2 separate regions of the Homo sapiens genome follow, and region 1 is linked to region 2. The links are contacts of gene promoters, found by promoter capture Hi-C in human tissues and cell types (Jung and others, 2019). All regions are on one chromosome and are shown on one strand. Each heading gives the region's core, a stretch centred on a gene start or on the middle of the fragment in contact. The rest is flanking DNA. Distances are from core to core; before and after follow the strand shown. Region 1 overlaps LOC124901983 (a long non-coding RNA gene). Region 2 holds the start of GDF6 (growth differentiation factor 6).

Evidence for each region. The method cuts DNA at HindIII sites, captures the fragments that hold promoters and counts their contacts. A contact is called where the count stands out against the background at its distance.
Region 1: a fragment that was not itself captured here is called in contact with the fragment with the promoter of GDF6 in region 2 in 2 of the 25 tissues and cell types used here (IMR-90 fibroblasts and mesenchymal stem cells).

Annotation. Positions count from the first base shown.
Region 1 is chr8:96,018,239-96,023,778 of GRCh38, reverse strand. LOC124901983 (a long non-coding RNA gene) reads right to left here. Exons shown (of 3, transcript XR_007061016.1): 2 at 4,702-4,865; 3 at 1-2,985. Among named protein-coding and RNA genes, the nearest start is that of GDF6, 140 kb to the left of the region's middle. The HindIII fragment of the contact is 3,826 bases long and covers 1,172-4,997 here.
Region 2 is chr8:96,159,003-96,164,097 of GRCh38, reverse strand. GDF6 (growth differentiation factor 6) reads left to right here and starts at 3,292. Exons shown (of 2, transcript NM_001001557.4): 1 at 3,292-3,811. The coding sequence starts at 3,406. The HindIII fragment of the contact is 22,921 bases long and covers 1-5,095 here.

The sequences.
Region 1 (5,540 bases), core at 1,835-4,334, 140 kb after region 2:
GGCTTAGACCAATCAGGGCCAATCTCTGGAGCTGGAGAAGTGGAGTTAAAATTGCGAAAATCACGAATCTGGGGAGTTTCTTGTCTTATTAGGAATGGGGGAAGGAATGGGGGGAAGACATTCCACTGACAAATCCACTCCTCTGTCTTCTTCCCATGTCTCACACTCCTTTCTTTCCTTATGTACATCTTCAAAAGTTCATGCCTACTGGAATCACAAGCAGCTCTCATTTTGAGTTCCAGATTCTGGATTTGCAGCTGATGTGTCTTCTTCTAGGTCAGTTTCTGGATGGAGTTTTTCATAGTCTGATATAGCTAAATAATGTTACCCACTCCTGTGGAAAAACCTGCAATTTTCCCCTCATTATCTAATCTCCCAATCCTCCCTTTAGTAACAGAACTCCTGATTTTCAACCAAGCACATGGCCACCCAGCTAGACACCACATTTCCTAGACTTCTTGACATTAGATGTGGCCATGAATCCAAATTCACAACAAAGGGATATGAACAAAAGTCAAACGTGCCACTTCTCCTTTATAGCCTTAAAACATATCATTTGTCCTCTCTTGTCTGTTCCCCTTCCTGGGAATGAGAATGCCATGTGGTGGTGAGCAAGGTGGGCTAAAGAGCATAACAACCCAGGCCAGTGGTTTTTGAAAAGGGTCCTGGACCAGCAGTCCAGGGAGCTCACTGGAAAGGCATATTTTCAGGTCCTACTCCAGAACTGGTGAGTCAGGAATTATGGCAGTGGGGCCCAGAAACTTCTGTCTTAATAAGCTCTCCAGGGCATACACACAGAAGTTTGAGAACCACTGTTGGGGTGATTTTTGGCCCTATACCCTCCAACATTTGGCAGTATTTTTGATTGTCACAATGTGGAGGGACAGGAAGGTACTGCTACTTCCATCTAGCAGGTATGGAACAGGCTCACTCTAAACATCCTACTATGCACTAGATAGTCCCAACAGCACAGCTTTATCAGGCCTCAAAAGTCAATATTGCTGAGCTTGAGAAATCCTGCTCTAAGGAAAGTGGAATAATGAAATCGAAGCATTGTGAGTTCCTGGCTAACCCTGGAAAGAACTGTTTAGGGACTCTCTCTGATCTCTACTCTGCACTGCCCAATATGGTAGCCACCAGCTACATGTGGCGTTTGAGCTCCCGAAATGGGACTAGTCTGAATTGACATGGGCTATAATTTAGTCCCTCCCAAAAAAGAATGCAAAATATATCAATAGTATTTTATATCAATTACATGCTGAAATGAAAATATTTTGGATATATTAGTTAAAAGAAATATATTATCAAAAATTAATTTCACTGCTTATTTTTTCCAGTGTGGCTACTAGAGAATTTCAAATTACAAATGAGACTTGCCTTATATTTCTATTAGACAGTGCCGCTCTAGCACTTAAGAAATAAATTTCTTTCTGTCTTCTTTGAGCCACTGTAGTTTTAGGTCTCTTCGTTGCAACAGCTAAGCCTGTTTTCCTTTCTATGATAACCCAGTAAATATAAAATGGTGGAGGATAGCTTCAAGGAAAACTTTTATTGGAAGAAATAGACAATGAGAAAACAGTACACAGTGGTCTCTGATTCACTGTATGTATTTTTCCCTGCTTGACAGGAACAGTGAAGTGTTCTTGCCTTGGTAATGCAGTGAGTTCCTTGGTTAGCCAATCTGACAAATCCTAGATGTGCTGTCTGGAAACGTCTCCCTTGTCCGTTGTCCTCTTAGCCCATCTGAGATAGATATTGGCACATATGCCCTTTTTGGGATCTGTACTTCTTTGAAGCCCATTACTTTTTGGTGCAAATTTGAGGGGCCTGGAAATTACCTCAGGGATTGAAGAATCACAGGCTGTTGTCAGCCAGGCTTGGGTTTCTTGGACTGAACCAAATTCCTTAAAAACCTGAAGGCTTCCTGTCTATTTGCCTTCCACCAATTCCATGAGCTGATAATCAAAGCCAGAGTCCTTGTCTAGTCATCTCTGAGTCTGGGAATTCCGGTCTCTCAGCAACAGGCTTCTGTGCTCTGCCTTGCCAAGATAGCCAGGGCTGAGCACTTTGCCAAAATTCTGCCATCCATCTTGCACCTGAAAAGCAGCCAGCCCACGGGTGCCGCCCCACAGAGATACCTGGCACTTCGTGGTGCATAAGCAAATTGCCGGGATCCTGCCTGTGAGTTTCCATTCAAGGCATGGGAAGAGTCAGTTGGTCAGCAGTGTCTGAAGCTGGGGCTGCAGGGCCAAGAGGTGGTGGGGTTGTCGTGAAAGAGGTGGTGGGGTCATTGTGATGGCTGAGCACTTGAATAAGCCACAGTCCCCTGTTGTGGAGCAGCAACAAGGCCAACAGGCATGAGAGCTTTTTACACGCTGAATAAGGCTCCAGTTTCTGAATATCTTTCTGGGCTCCATAAAACCTAGTTGTGTGGCCAGGGTGGTAGGTTTCAGAAGTGAGAGCAGGGTGACCTCTCTATATAGGAAGTCCCATAAAGGAACCCTTTTTCCTGGCCTAGCCAATACCTCTCCAAGTGAGCATCCCAGTCATGCACCCCTGCTGTCTGTATATGGCACACCCTCTTCCTAGGGGGTACTTGTCAGGCACTCTAAGTCCCCTGCTTTTAGAAATGGACAGAATAAAATCCCCCTCTTAGATTTGTAAGTAGATTTTTCTGGCAGAATAACGAGCCCCTCTTGCCATTAATCTTAATAAGCTTTGGGGCTAACAAAATCCATTTTCCCAAGGTCGGAATTATTCTTAAGTGGACTTTGGGAAACATTTTAACCTTTTTGTCACTCAGGCTAAAGAATTAAAACACATTTCTGGAATTTTTTTCTGGGGTTACTAGGAAGCCAGAGTGAGGCGTGGCTGCCTTTGTGTATTTTTCTTTATAAAAACCTTGATGTCAGGGGACCCAGGCCCTTCTCAGCTCCGGTTTGTGTTTGTATTTCCACGTATAGTGCACATTCCTGGTGGATATTTCTAGGAAAAAGAAGAAAAAGTGGCATAATGATAGACTAAGGCAAGGAAAATGTTTTTGTGAAGCAAACAGGCCAAAAATGAAAAAATGGGAGCAACTCTGACCCTGGTATACCACCCTACTCATAACCCAGGCAGCAGGGTTACCAGCTTTGCCTTACATTCTCAGACTAAATTCGTCTAATGTAAAACAGTGCATGGGAACCGAACTCCCGTTTTCTCTCAGGTATGGTGACATAGTAGGAGATGTCACTTTGAATACTTCCAAATGAGAAAGAAAGATGACAGATTTGGCTGCTGCATGGTTCAAAGATGCAGGAAATGGATACAATACGTGGTGTCGTTTAGATTCAAAACAAGGGTACTTGAGTGTTCAGTGTTACTTGCAATAAATATATTAGATTTAAGCCTCAGTTTGAACCTAACCATAACTGGATTCTTAACTATCTAGTTTAAATGACTGGTAACATGAAGCATTTCATAATTTCTGGTCCATTAGTTGCGATCAGGTCCTAATTAACATTCCAGGACCTGGTTTTAGCCAACCTATGTGGAAAATTTGAAGTGGGAACACATATCTGGGGCTATGCCTCTAGTATGGTGTGTATCACGTTGTGGTTTCTGCTACATTTTTTTGGGGTGGGGGGCAGAATTGGACCAGTGGAGATTACCCACACAGTTATGAGTTGCTTAATGACGGGGATATGTTCTAAGAAATATATCATTACGTAATTCTGTTGTGTGAACATCATAGTGGGTACTACCCAAACCTACATGGTGTAGCCCACTACATACCTAGGCTATAAGATATAGTCTATTGCTCCAAGGCTACAAACCTGTACAGCATGTTACTGTACTGAATATTGTAAGCAATTGTAATACAGTGGTAAGTATTTGTGTATTGAAACATATCTAAATATAGAAAAGGTACAGTAAAATTATGGTATAAAAGATATAAAATGGTACACCTGTACAGGGCACTTACCATGAACAAAGCTTGCAGGACTGGAAGTTGCTCTGGGTGAGTCAGTGAGTGAGTGGTGAGTGAATGTGAAGGCCTAGGACTTTACTGTACACTACTACGGATTTTATAAACACAGTACACTTAGGCTACACTCAGGCTACACTCAATTTAGGAAAACATGTTTTTCTTTCTTCAATAATAAATCAACCTTAGCTTACCGTGACTTTTTAACTTTATAAACTTTTTACTTTTTTAACTTTTTAACCCTTTGTAATAACTGCTTAAAACACAAACATCGCTGGGCACGTGGCTCACACCTGTTATCCCAGAATTTGGGAGGCTGAGGCAGGTGGATCACCTGAGGTTAGGAGTTTGAGACCAGACTGACCATAATGGTGAAAACCCGTCTCTACTAAAAATACAAAAATTAGTTAGGCATGGTGGCTCACACCTGTAGTCCCAGCTACTCGGGAGGCTGAGGCACGAGAATCACTTGAACCCGGGAGGCAGAGGTTGCAGTGAGCCAAGATCACACCACTGCACTCCAGCCTGGGCAACAGAGTGAGACCCGGTCTCAAACAAACAAACAAACAACAAACAAACAAACAAACACAAACACATCACATTGTACAGCTGTACAAAATATTTCCTTTCTTTATATCCATACTCTATAAGCTTTTTTCTATTTTTAAAGTTTTTAACATTTTTCCTACTTTTAATACTTTTTTGTTAAAAACCAAGACATAAATACACACCTTAGCAAAAAAAGGGTCAGGATCATCGGTATCATTGTCTTCCACCTCCACATCTTGTCCCACTGGAAAGTCTTCAGGGAGAGTAACATGCCTGGAGTTGTCATCTCCTGTGACAACAGTGCCTTCCTGTGGAATCCCTTCTGAAGGACCTTCCTGAGGCTCTCCTTGAGAAGGTATCACTCTTTTCAGGAATATATCCATGGTGATTTATTTTTCTCACCATAAATTTGTGTGAGTAATGCATTGTGCTACAATGTTACAATAGCTACAATGTCACTAGGCAATAAGAATTTTTCAGCTCAATTCTAATCTAAAGGACCATTGTCATATATGGGGTCAATTGTTGACCAGAATGCCATTATGTGGCACACACTGTATTTTCTCTCTTTGGTATTAACTGAGCAGTATTTACTTCCTGGTCTAAAGATACTCTCTGTGTGTAATGTAAGCAAAATCCCTTCTTTATGGCGGTAAGGTTCTTATCTATTGATCAGTTAAGGCTAAAAGCTATACTCAACTTCTCCACTTCACTTCTTTATCTGAGTGAGAACTGAAACTCTCCGCTGCCCATATTATGCAGCCTCGTCTGGAAAATCCACACCATGTACCCCTTGATCCTCCAACAGGAATCCAGCCTGCTTCCTTGTAGCCCACTGTCCCTCTCAGGGAAAGCTTATAGGTTTTTCTTAGACTCAAACACATCAAGAGGTGATGTACCTAAATAACTTGAAGGAGAAATATCAAAAAAAATTCCAATACTCCATCCAGAAGGATCTGACAGACAGGGTCATCCCAGCTAGTGTTTCACGGAGCAACAGTGATTAGAGTGAGAAATGCTC
Region 2 (5,095 bases), core at 2,043-4,542:
GTGGATTCCTATCTGAAACTATCTGAAATTTACCCACTGGAGAGGAAGAGATCAGACACTATATACTACTGTGGGTCATTGTCATGATCTTTGAAATTTTTTTTTTAATACAGGAGAAGCATTCGCTTAGGAGTCAGAATGTCTTGGCTCCTAATCCTAGCTGTATTTTGGACTAGTTTAAAACCTCGGGCTCTCTCCACTGAGTTTGTCTGCACCTCTGTTTCCTCACCTGTAAAATGATCGCTGCAGCCCTTTCAGGCAAAGACCAGCTAGAACTTTTCTTGCAAAGACCCGAGGCTGATAGCGATGACGGAGGGTAATGTCAGCCCCAGGGGAATCCTGAAGGACAACAGACCATGGCCTTTGTGGTCCCTGTTTCAGTGTCATTTACTGTTCCGTGTGGCTCCATCTAGCAGGCTGAGAGGTCCTAAACCACAGCAATAGGCTCATTACTTTGTTTCCTGTTTACTGATAACTTGCAGCAGATAATAATTGCTGTGGGCAAAATGAAGAGAGAACACATAGAGTTGCCTCTGCAGGCAGGAAACATACAGTACTTATTGGATGGAGGGTCTGAAACTGTAAAACTATGAATCATTGTTAACCAGGCACCATACTGATAGAAATTAAAATATTGATAACACAAACCACAAGTGTTGTTTCCTGGGGAAGGGATGGAAATAGATCACAAGGAGGGCACTTTCCCGGATGACACTTGAGAGGCAGACATACAGAGCAAGACACAGGGCAGGCCAAAAAAGACCACTTACATCCCACAGGCGACAGGTAGGCAGGGGGGAAATGTTCCTTCTGCAAATGAGAAATGGGGAGTTTTGAGTCTGTGGTTTTACAGAGATTGCATTTGCAGGCCAGCAGAGGGGCAGTGAAGGGGGGACATAGGGGAGAGACATCGAAGGCAGTGGATTTGGTTGTAAAATGTTAAGTGACAAGGGAGGAATCCAACATAATATCTATCCCTGGATTACAATAATATGAAAAGGATATGTGCATAACAAATAAAGAAGGAGTGGAAGGGAACCCAAAAGGTAAAAACATTTGGATTTGTTGTAGTGGCAAAAATTTGAGAAATAATTTTTTCTTTCAGTTTATCTCCTTTTATTTTATTTTATTGTAAATATTAACAAGCCATTTTAAAGCACAGAGAGAGGAAGGAAGAAAATATTATAGTAAAAGCACCTTCAAGTATAAGGTCTCAGAACTTGACAACCATGAAACCCAAACTAGGGGACATAAGTAGAATTGGGATAGGGCCAGAAGGGGCATCCACGGAGACCAAGGGGAGAGCAGCCAAGCTCAATAGCCCAGTGATTAAGAGCCCAGACTCTGGAGTAGTGTGACCCTGGGCCTCACTTTCCCTATCTGTAAAATAGGAATAATACAGCACTTATTTCAGGATTGCTGTGAAGATTAAGTAAAATAATATTGGCGAAGGGCTTCAAACCATGACTGACACACAAGTTCTCTGTGGGTGCTTGCCATTACCTGGAGGAGGCCAGTGTCCAGGGTGGAGGGCATATCCCAGACCTTAAGGAAGTTAAAGGATGAGGGGAGCAGCGCAGCAAAACTCCCTCCCCCTGCAGGCTGTCATGTGAGTGGTCCCTGCAGGACAGAAGAGGTGATGAAAAAGCAAAAGGAAGAAGGGGTTAGAAAGTGAGAGGGAGGAGATTGGAGAGACTGGGAACACACACAGAAAGTAGCATGGCGGAGAAAGAAGCCACCTGAGATCAAGTGAAACCATAAAGAGAAGAAAAAAGCCAGAACTGAAATAGAGAAGTTGGGCCAGGAATGACTGTCTATGCTGTAGTGGGAAGAATCTTGGGCTTGGGGTGGGAGCCTGGGTTCTGTCCCTTGCTGCATAACCTCTTGGCAGAGTGGCCTTGGAAAAGTCACTTATTTCCATTGAGTCTTTTTTTTTTCCATCCGTGAAGGTGAAAATAGTCAACGCCAACCTCACAAAGCTGTTGGCACGATTAAAGGAGGGTACTTTATGGTTGGTGCCTGAGCACCCAATCAGTACTGAGGGAAACTCTTCTGCCCATAGCAGTCCAGGGCAGAGCACTGTGGCAGACAGAAGCAGCGCTACGCCGCATCGCCTTTCAGCGTGCAGGCCCAGGAATGAGCGAGGCAGTGGGCGGGGAAGACAGGCACGGGGAATCTGGGGACAGATAAAGGAAACTCGTGATGGGGCGAGGCTGGGCTGAAGAGAAACAGATTGGGGTAGAGCTGCAAAGGGAGGGGTCCACTGGAAGGCGAGGGGGGAGGCCGGGAAGAGAGAGGGTGGGAAGGCAGTGTGAGATGGGAGGGCAGTGTGAGAAGAAAAGCAGGCTGGGGAAGAGGGATTGGAATGCAGAAGGAACTTGGGGAAGGAGGAAGTCCTGCAGGCGGGAGGGAAAGAAGAGAGGGAAAATGGGGATGCAGTGGAGGCGGGGGGCAGGCCGCGAGAGGGAGAGGATCCCGGGAGCAGACGAAGAAGTGGAGCAGCTAAAGTCTGCGTCAGAAGAGGTTGGGGACTGCGAGAGGAGAGGCTGGGGCCTGCAGGGGAGCGCAGCAGCTTTTAGCATCGATCCAAACTCTAAAGACTCGTGGCCTTTGCCTGACCTCGAGGGTCGGGAATAGACGCCTGTCTTTGTGGAGAGCGATACCCAACCGAGAAAATGGGGCTGTTCCGAGCTGGGCCCTGCGCCTGGCCCAGGGCGAGGCTTCTCTGGCTCCGGGCTGGCCCCTGAGGGGCGCAAACGGCAGGCCTGGCGGTTGGGGCCGAGGAGGGAGGGTACCACCGCCCCGAGGCAGCACGCAGCCTGCAGCAGAGGCGCCTGCTCCAAGCTGTCTCTTGGGGGCGCCGCCGCCGCTTCCCTCCTCCGGGGCCGCTCGCTCCCAGGAAAGTGGAGGCGGCTGGCGAGGACCGAGAGCCGGGGCCGCGCTGCGGAGGGACCACACCTCCGGGAGTTCGAGGGGGACCCTGGCGCGGCGGGCCAGCCTTTGCTCCCCGGCCACGGGCCGGCAGCGCCCGCCTTCCCCCGGTCAGCGCTTGCGGCCCGCGCCGCGCGCACCGCCCGGCAACCCCGCGCGCGTCCCGCGGGGGCGCTGCGTCTTCCTGCCACACCGGCGCACCGCGGCCCCTCTCCCCCACACCTCCGGCCCGCACCACCCGGCTCTCCTCCCACCCTCCCCACCCCTCCTCTGCCCTCCCTCCCCATTCCTCCCCTCCCGGCGAGGGGCGGGAGGGGGCGTGGCGGGGCCGGGGTTTGTGTGGCTGGGACCCGGCTCCTCGCACTCCGAGTCCGCCCGAGGAGCCGGGCCCCGGCCGCTGTCCAGCCGCTCCGTGCCCCGCGCGTCCTGCGCCGCCGCCACCGCCTCCTGGGGAGACGCAGCCACTTGCCCGCCATGGATACTCCCAGGGTCCTGCTCTCGGCCGTCTTCCTCATCAGTTTTCTGTGGGATTTGCCCGGTTTCCAGCAGGCTTCCATCTCATCCTCCTCGTCGTCCGCCGAGCTGGGTTCCACCAAGGGCATGCGAAGCCGCAAGGAAGGCAAGATGCAGCGGGCGCCGCGCGACAGTGACGCGGGCCGGGAGGGCCAGGAACCACAGCCGCGGCCTCAGGACGAACCCCGGGCTCAGCAGCCCCGGGCGCAGGAGCCGCCAGGCAGGGGTCCGCGCGTGGTGCCCCACGAGTACATGCTGTCAATCTACAGGACTTACTCCATCGCTGAGAAGCTGGGCATCAATGCCAGCTTTTTCCAGTCTTCCAAGTCGGCTAATACGATCACCAGCTTTGTAGACAGGGGACTAGGTAAGTGGCAAAGAAAACGCTCGACTCCCCTCCCGCTGGAGCTCGGCAGCCAGGGAGCTGTTCCCGCTGGAGGCTACATTTGTGAATTCCCTTCCTGCTCTGGACACTTCCTTTTTACTTTTCTTAAATTGTTTTTCTCAAGCTCGAGTAAGTTTCTGAATGTGGCTGCGGATTCTATTCCAGTCTCTAAACCTCCCTTCCTTTCCCCCCCTTTCTTTCTCTCTCCCTTCTTTCCTTCTTCCTCTTTTGCAGAAGGCAGCGTGGTTGCCGCTTGTTGGTGGCTGGTGGGGGAAACGTGGAGGACGGGAGGCAGCAGGCGGATGAACCCGGCTGGAGAGGGGTCGGGATGGGGACTGATGGAATCGGTGTCTCGGGATACTGGGTTCGCAGTCCAAGGCCTGAGCTGCTGGGGCAGATCTAGGGCATGAGACAGCCTTGGAAAGCCCTGGGCAAAGCCGGCACTAGGGAGTCCCACAGTCTGAGGAACTAGTCCGCGAGCGGCGTCGGGCAGCCCCCTGGTCCTGGCGCCGCGCGGGTTTTCCGTTGGTCCCTGCGCTGGGTGGGATGGTCAGCCGGGCTGGAGCCCTGCGCCCTCCGGCTTTTTTGCTCCAGCGTGGTGCTCCCGGCTGCTCCGAGGCCTCAACACGAGTGGTTTCTGCAGATGCGGCGGCAGCAGTTGGGCGGGCCGGGACAGGGACGGCTAAGTTCGGAGGTTGTGGGTACTTAATACACAAAGGTACATGGGTATGCCCATCCACCTTTCTCAGCCAGGCGACGTTCCTCTCTCTACGCTATTCCTGAGGGCTGGTGGGGGTCTGGGAAATCCCTGGTACCCTCTGTGGGAACGCCTGCATGTGTGGGTGTCTGCGGAAACCCTTGCGGCCCCTTCTTGCCACCGGCGTTGATCTGCAGCGTGGCCAGTGCCCTCAAGAAAACCTCGCACCACCTCTGGTCCCAGAAATCAGGGAAGGATCCACAGGCATCGGAAACTAAGCTCCTAAAGGAGAGAGACAATAATGTGGAAGGAGACAGGAAAGGAAGGGAGAAAAAGGAAAGGAAGAGTAAAGAGAAGGAAGGAAGAAAATGACGGGATAAAAGCGATTTAGGCAGATATCCACTCCTCCATCCTCCCTAGACTTAGCTCCATGACTTTGACCTGCTCCCAGTTAAGTGGGGTTGCCCGGAAACCTTGCAGCGCTGGGGTTCGGGATTCGGAAGCTGCTTCAGCCACTGCTACCCTGGGTGCTCGCACATCTCTTAAGCTTTTTAGAGCAGGCTAACGGC